Linked DNA regions of Homo sapiens: regions 1 and 3 are each linked to region 2. The links are contacts of gene promoters, found by promoter capture Hi-C in blood cells and fetal thymus (Javierre and others, 2016). All regions are on one chromosome and are shown on one strand. Each heading gives the region's core, a stretch centred on a gene start or on the middle of the fragment in contact. The rest is flanking DNA. Distances are from core to core; before and after follow the strand shown. Region 1 has its middle 44 kb from the start of ANXA1. Region 2 holds the start of RORB (RAR related orphan receptor B). Region 3 overlaps LOC101927281 (a long non-coding RNA gene).

Region 1 (2,700 bases), core at 196-2,695, 1.3 Mb before region 2:
TGAAAACTGCATTATTTCAGCTTCATAATATGTTTTTGTTTGAGTGGTAAAAGTTTTGCTTTCTTTCATGGAAGCTCTTTGTTTTTCCTTCAGTTTTCACTCCATGCTTTGATATGGATATATTTGACTATTGTATTTCAAGACCACTAATATTTCCTTTTATTAAGAGATCCAGTGAATTTTTCATTGCAATATTTGACATCTTTGAAATTTCCATTTGGTTCTTTTTTTAAAGATTCTTGCTTTTAAATACAATACTCTTCGCTGCTTGTCTCCTGGTGCTGTGACTCTTGGATTTATTGCAGATTGTCCAAAGCCAGGTCACACCCTCAAGAGTGATTTTCAATTGTTTAAAATCACTAACATCAAATTGAGGGTGTGAACCTGACACCATGAGAAGACATGAAAAGAGATAACTGCAAATGGAAATGTAAGGCAGATGGGAAAAATCACCTATTAATAGCATATGAAATCAGACAATTATTTAGTTACTGCTTTCCAGGGATTTAAAAAATCTGCTCCCAAAGACCATATATTTTCTTTCCATTGTGAACATTTTATTCTTTGTCAGCTGTGTGAAGAAAAAAGCTTTTTGATTTTCTTTTGTCTATTCTTGAGAAAAAATTGCAAAACACATACTAGAAAATATTTTCAATAATTTTATGTATTTCTTTATAAATGCCATAAGGAAATATATGTACAAATAAATATAAACATGTTACTAAATTAAGAAAATGATATCAGATACCATATTCTATATCTTCCCTCATCTCATAGTCTCAACATATATCATTTGTATTATTTTATTTGAAATGCATATGTCATTTTTTTAAATTCATTTTTCCATTACCTGAGAAAGTACCATGGTCCCAGGTAAATCCATTTGAAAAATCCGTATTTTTACTTTTATAGGTAGCTCAATTCAGTAATTCTTACTACAAACATGTAAATTTCTTTCTTAATTCATTAACTTTTAAAAATATATATTAACAGCCCTATTGCAAAAGATGAAGATAGTATCTTTCTTACAAAATCTTTCTGGCCCTACTTACTCCTACTACTATTTGTTAATTACATAGTTATTTTGAGTTTTTCTGATAATTGCATTTACACATCTAAATGTTGGGTCAGTTCTGGAATATTTTTGGTTCCAGATAAAAGAAAACTTGATTATCATTATGGCTTATGTGGGTAAGAATTTATTTGCTATTCATAGCAAGAGATCTAGAAGTGCATGGTTGCAGGGTTGACCAATAGGCTTAATAACATCAAGGCCCCTGGACAGCAGCTTTGCAATCTCTTAGCCTTCCCTTCTATGGCTGAATAGACATCTATAAGTCCACCTTCTCCTTCCATCCCATTTTTTGGGTGTATATATCTCCGCCAGCTGCAAACATGGAGGCTAATGCATTCTGTGTTCAGCCTTTTACTTATTACTCTGACAGTAACCCCTGCTCTCACCTTTTTTTTCTGCCTTCTCAAGCACATGTTTCGTGTTGTTTTCTAAATTCTAATTTATCCATCAGCAGGACTTTATCAGCTTTCCATATTATAGAAATTCAACATTTAAGTGGCTGGTTGATGGTACATTTTCTTGCCTTTATCATTGTGAATAATTTATTCTTCTTGGGTATGTAAGAAGAAGGGAAGGAAAACTCTGTATTCAGGTCAGTTTTTTAAAAAACTAAAAAACTGAAGGTTTATAAGCATCATTGTGAAGTGTCTTTTCTAACCTAAATATAACACACAGATATTTTTCTTTTTACTTTGTGAATTAAAAATTTACCTTGTGAATTAAAAGTTGAATGGCAGAGATTTATTTACTTTGTTTTGTCATATCAAGTTGATATTGTTTGGATCTGTATCCCCACCAAATCGCTTGTCAAATTGTAATCCCCAGTGTTGGAGGCAGGGCCTGGTGGGAGGTGATTGGATCATGGGGATGATTTCTCATGAATGGTTTAGCACCATCCTGTTGGTACCATCCTCATGACAGTGTGTGCGTTCTCGTGAGATCTGGTCATTTAGAAGTGTGTGGCACCTCCTCCTTCACTCCCTCTTGCTCCTGCCACGTAAGACGTGCCTGTTTCTCCTTCGCCTTCTGTCATCATTGTAAGTTTCCCGAATCCTCTCCAGACACTAAGCAGATGCCAGTGCCATGCTTCCTGTACAGCCTGTGGAACTGCGTAAACCAATTAAACCTCTTTTCTTTAAAAATTACCTAGTTGCAGGTATTTCTTTATAGCAATGTAAGAACTAAAACGTAAGTGGTGAATTCATAATTTCAGTGAAAACTATGAATCTAAGCTTGACACTCATGAAGAATTTATGTGCCAGGAACCATGCTCAGTATGATTTTTCAAACACTGTTTGTATTTTTTTTTTTATTTTGAAGAATTTCAGACTTACAGAAATGTTGTAAAAATAGAACAAAGAATTCTGATATACTTTTTACACAGATCCTCAAATTTTAATATTTTACTCCTTTTCTGTCCTTTTTCCACACACACACACACATACACACACACAACATACACGCACACACACATTTTTGACCTATTGAAAAGTAACTTTTAGGCATGATGGCTCTGTGCCACTGAATAGTTAAACGTGTGTTTTCTGAAAACACCATGTTTTCTTACAAAATCATAGTAAAATTATCAAAATCAGGAAATTTACATTGACACAATACTGCTATCT
Region 2 (2,700 bases), core at 59-2,558:
AACTACTTGGCAGTGTAGAGCGACCTAATTAACTAAATAACTGCCAATTCTACATTGTACTTTGTGTTACATGACATATCATGAATAAATACCAGTCAAAAATCAAATTATTTGGATACTTAAATGATGATGAGGCCTGCTGTGCCAACAGGTATGCTAATGAGTAGACATCTCCCAGCCTCAAGACTGAGTGAATGAGGCAAATATTTTCACCTCCCAATCTTTTAGGGTGTTCAATTAACTCAAGTATTTAAGAAGTTCCCTACTATTGGGAAGGAAGTAGATGTAATCATCTATATGCTTATTTTGTCAACTGAGTTGGAAAAACTTGCAAAGGAACAGTTTGGATATATGTATTAGATTTTTATCAAAATACAAATAAATGGTCATAGATGACAATTTTCACCTAAGGAATACAAGTAAGTTTATCTATGTTCAGTTACCAATCGCCTCTAACTAAAGTTAACAATGTCTTCCTTCTAAAACCTTTCTAAAGAGCACCCTGCAATCACACCTTCTAGCAACAGCCATTTCTCTTGAATTAGTAAGGTGGCTACACCGCCAATTTGAGCTGTTCTCCTTCAGTCCTGTAGTCCATCGCCAGGGGAGTCTCCAAATGCTAATAAAAATCAATTTCCCAGACAAAAGAACATATACACGTTTTTTTCTTTCTTTCTTTCTTTTTTTTTTTTTTTTAGAAGAGGGTCAGGGAGCATCTGACGGACGTTTTTAAAGGAAGGGGACAGCTACTTCCATGGGACTGCATTTTAGTTGTGCTAAAAGTGATGAAAGTGGGTTTGCATTATTCTACCACCAACACCCAAACCACCTGCCCACGGAAACCCCCGCCGGAGACCGAAGTTTACCCAAATAGCGCTCGGCAAAGCGCTGCCATAAATTCAAAACTAACTCTGCCGGGCCCGCGGGGGTTGCGAGACAGGGACCGAACGTGAAACCCGGGGAGCCCCGCGTCTCTTGCCTCCGAAGGTTTTCCGTGATCAGTGTCCCCTTCTCTGCTGGAGTCGGAAGTGCCTGTCACCTGCGGATCTGCCCGACTCTCCCGGTCGGCCCTTCTTCTCTGCCCAGTTCGGACAGTCTCGAATTCCCCGTCGCAGCCCCGGCCACCTCGGACTCCCTGGTCCCCAGCCCCCGCCCCACCCCCCGCCTCCACCACGTCCCCTCCCCGCGGTCCCAGCCTCTCCAGGCGCTGCTGGGCTCTGATTGGCGGCTGCGCTGACAGCAGGCGGGGCCTGGAAGTCGCGGCCAAGCCCGCCCTCGCGTATAAGCCCCTCTCAGCGCTCTCTCTCCATCTCTCCCCTCTCTTTCTCTCTCGCTGCTCCCTTCCTCCCTGTAACTGAACAGTGAAAATTCACATTGTGGATCCGCTAACAGGCACAGATGTCATGTGAAAACGCACATGCTCTGCCATCCACACCGCCTTTCTTTCTTTTCTTTCTGTTTCCTTTTTTCCCCCTTGTTCCTTCTCCCTCTTCTTTGTAACTAACAAAACCACCACCAACTCCTCCTCCTGCTGCTGCCCTTCCTCCTCCTCCTCAGTCCAAGTGATCACAAAAGAAATCTTCTGAGCCGGAGGCGGTGGCATTTTTTAAAAAGCAAGCACATTGGAGAGAAAGAAAAAGAAAAACAAAACCAAAACAAAACCCAGGCACCAGACAGCCAGAACATTTTTTTTTCACCCTTCCTGAAAACAAACAAACAAACAAACAATCATCAAAACAGTCACCACCAACATCAAAACTGTTAACATAGCGGCGGCGGCGGCAAACGTCACCCTGCAGCCACGGCGTCCGCCTAAAGGGATGGTTTTCTCGGCAGAGCAGCTCTTCGCCGACCACCTTCTTCACTCGTGCTGAGCGGGATTTTTGGGCTCTCCGGGGTTCGGGCTGGGAGCAGCTTCATGACTACGCGGAGCGGGAGAGCGGCCACACCATGCGAGGTAAGCGAGTCTGCGGGCACCGAGGCTCCCCGAGTCCGGCCAACTCCAGCCAGACGGGGAGATGGGGGAGGGGAGGGCACCCAGCAGAAAGGGAAAGAGGTTGCCCAGGCGCAGTTCCCCGAATTCGCTCTCGCAGGTGGGGCTGCAAATGGCCTGGGCGTAGAAAGTTGCGGGAAGGTGTTGATGTCTTTCGGGAGTTCTGGAGGGACGCGGGAGGGCGCTTTTTTGGAGAGGGGAGACAGGCTAGTTGGTTCTTACCAGTCCTTGAGTTGCACTGAATCTTTTTTGCTTGTCGCTCTCGGGTGCGGAAGCGGACGCGGGATGGAGAAAGCCGAAAGAGGGATGCCTCTGGACAGGAGCAGTTTGGAAGCGCCCGGCGCGCAGTGGTCGCCGGCCGGGTTTGGGCGCGCGGGGCGCACCGGCCGGGGGCAGGGTGGACACGCGCGGGCACACACTCGCCAGGTTACGAGGCCCACTAAGCGTCCTGGCCAGCAGGCATGTCCCTTCGCTGGAGTAGCAAGCAGAAGAGCAGTGCTGCGAGGCTGGACGCGGCTGAGGAAACAGTTAGTTCCCCGGCACGCGGCTGAGGAAACAGTTCTGCGGCGCGCGCCTTCGTGCCGGCGCTGCGCCCTGGCCAGGTCCTCGTGCCCGAGCCCGCGCGGCCCAGGGAGTAGTGCGACCCCGGAAAAGTTGTAATGAGAAAGTTCTGGAGGCTTGGAAAGGCCACACTGCTCACAGTCGGA
Region 3 (2,700 bases), core at 148-2,647, 1.2 Mb before region 2:
ATAGGTTGTGTAATTTAAAAGACAGTGACCTCTTGATATGTTTATGTTATTGACAAAATTCAAAATATTATTGACAAAAACAGAACAAAGTGCCCTGATGCATGGAATTAGTTAATATTAGCCACTTATATATTAGAGAATTATTTAGCCCTACTAAAATAATAGGTACCTATGCCATCACAATTAATGTTAATGGCCTCTTCTTCATAGGAACTATTGACTTTATAATTCTTCTAAGGTCTATCTTGATCCAGATGACCCTTATAGAGAAGGGTAATTATTTTCCTCTTTACTGTTGCAAGTAGGCAAGGATCCAATTTCTTTAAAAAGAATATAAAAATATCTAGATAAAAATAAAAAGAAGGTCCAAAACTCATTTTATTCTTATGCATTTAAATTGCTGTCTTGCTTGATTCTGGCAATGATACCGTGGATGTAGATTTTGCAAGCATATTAATAATTGGAGACTTATCTTAAACTCACAGAGCTTAAAAAACATATCCATAGAATCAAAGGCAGATGTAAAGTTAATCAAAGCTCTGAAGAGTCCTGAAAAGAGCAGTTTTTTCAATGAGATTAAAAAGAGTTCAATAATAATCAATACTTCAAGAGTGAGGTCTAAAATCTCCTTGCACTTCATATAAAGAATTACAATGAGAGCCCAAACCTTAAATTGTTCAATTAGAAAGATATTAAAGCTCAGAAGGCATATTAAATTAACAATTGGGCCTTTATTTTAAAAATATTGGTGGGTTACCATTTTTAAGTTGTAGAAAACAGCATGTTGAATGCATTTAGATGGAATTGTAACTGGGAGATATGTAGAGTAAATGACTTGATGCAGAACGGTGTCTTCTCGTAAGAACAAATTTCAAGTACATTTACTTTATTAAGCTTGCAATGGCTAATAATTTTAGTCTTTCCCGTAGCTAGAACCTATAACCATTTTGGAGTTATACTCGCATTATGCAACTGTGTTAGGATCTTGAAGCCGGGAGAGGCTAACTTTCAGTATGTAGAGAGAACAACATGGTTCTTCAGAATTTCTAAATAGAACTCAGCCAATCAAGAGACAAATATCTCAAAATCTACCTTATTAACATCATTATTCATCCTAAAAGCCTTTCAGGAAACTTTAATTAGTGTCCTTTAAACCCCTTCAGTAAATGTTTACGATTCTTTACAAGGTTTGTGGGAAATGGAATTTGTTTGTTTAATTTGTAACCATCTAAACAATCCAGTTTTATTTGGGTTACATTAGTAAGGTATGAAAAATAGTCAACTTGTGTCAGTCAGGTCTTCAGAATGACTTTATCCTTTGAAGGGAAATGTAAATATTTAAATTATAAAACAAAACAAAGTTATATTCATATATATCAGTGGTTCTCAGCCAGAGGTGATCTGTTCCCCAAATCCCTTCTAGGAAATACTGGGCAACGTTTGGAAGCCTTTTTCGTTGTCACATCTAAGGTATATGCTACTGGCATTTAGTGGGTAGACACCAGGGATGCTGCTAAACATCCTACCATGTAACAGACAGCCTCCCACAAGGAAGAATATCTAGTCCAAATGTCAATAGTGCTGAGGTTGAGAAACTTGAACACATGAATCAACATACACTCCAAACCAAAGTAAACTGATTCTAATGGTCTGCCTTTAATCATTTCCATTAATGTGAATAGTCAAGTATTTACCACATTACATATAGTATGCAATACCTACTAGATTATTGACTAATCTATTACCTAAATAGATTATTGTCTAAGGATTTTCTTAAATGTAAGCTACAAGCTAAAATGCATCCAATTTTTCTCTCTCTCATCCACTCATTTAACTGAAACACCGTGCAAAATAAATGTTTTCCCAAATTAAAAAGTAGCGTGTTGTGGAGGTGAATTATTAAGCTTATTTGTTTATGTTTTTTTAAACTTATTTTACTTTCATGATTTGAAATTTTAAAAGTGATGCTAACATACTAAAGATTTTATCTGGAGTGCTGTGTCCTGGGAATAACTTCTTCAGGCATTCAGCAAAGTGACCCTCTGAGGTTATATAGGCAGAACATCATGGAGATGTCTGGCTGCTGTGACAGACTCTAAATATCAATCAAAATCAATAAACAGGCATTAAGAATTTATTGCAGGCCAATCCTGTGCTTTAGCAGATGCCTTCTCCAAATATTGTGGGATATATTGGGAAAAAAAGCTCTCTTCTGTTCTCTAAATTGATATTTTTAAAAGCTGTTATTATTTTTTTAATTTTGTATATAAAATACATACACAATTATGCATTTAGTACTGTTTAGCTATCAGTCACAAGGCTAAACAACACATGTACTGTAGAGGTAGATACCAAAAAAGTAAAATACTCAGAGTTTACTTACTAGTTATAACAAAACAATTAAAGTATATAGAACAATTTTTTTGATTGAGTACCAAATTTCATCATAAAATAGGGTTATAGTCGTTAAGAAAATGGAATAAACAACATATGTGGAATGATAAATAATACATCAAAAGTAGACCTGACCTTGAACTTGGATGCCAAACCATGAATTAAGTTTGTACAATATAAATGTTAAAAGATAAGACAGGAAGAAAATAAAGATGTTATCAAGGGTTTAAATAAAAAACAGTAGAGATGAGAAACAATGTGTCTTCCTAATGTTTACTTTGTTTTTTAAGTAAAATATAAACTTTA

Evidence for each region. Contacts are between HindIII fragments. The CHiCAGO score rates a contact against its expected background, and 5 or more counts as called.
Region 1: a fragment that was not itself captured here is called in contact with the fragment with the promoter of RORB in region 2 in 1 of 17 cell types (monocytes); the score reaches 5.0 in monocytes.
Region 3: a contact is called between a fragment that was not itself captured here and the fragment with the promoter of RORB in region 2, in 3 of 17 cell types (megakaryocytes, fetal thymus and total B cells). The highest score is 7.1, in megakaryocytes.

What each region holds. Positions count from the first base shown.
Region 1 is chr9:73,194,137-73,196,836 of GRCh38, forward strand. No RefSeq gene overlaps it. Among named protein-coding and RNA genes, the nearest start is that of ANXA1, 44 kb to the left of the region's middle. The HindIII fragment of the contact is 1,719 bases long and covers 587-2,305 here.
Region 2 is chr9:74,496,027-74,498,726 of GRCh38, forward strand. RORB (RAR related orphan receptor B) reads left to right here and starts at 1,309. Exons shown (of 10, transcript NM_006914.4): 1 at 1,309-1,957. The coding sequence starts at 1,951. RORB-AS1 (RORB antisense RNA 1) reads right to left here and starts at 2,527. Exons shown (of 5, transcript NR_125791.1): 1 at 2,216-2,527. RefSeq lists silencers at 945-1,157, 1,153-1,342, 1,247-1,541. The HindIII fragment of the contact is 5,400 bases long and covers 1-2,700 here.
Region 3 is chr9:73,261,068-73,263,767 of GRCh38, forward strand. All of the region lies in intron 1 of LOC101927281 (a long non-coding RNA gene), which reads left to right. Among named protein-coding and RNA genes, the nearest start is that of ANXA1, 110 kb to the left of the region's middle. The HindIII fragment of the contact is 1,010 bases long and covers 893-1,902 here.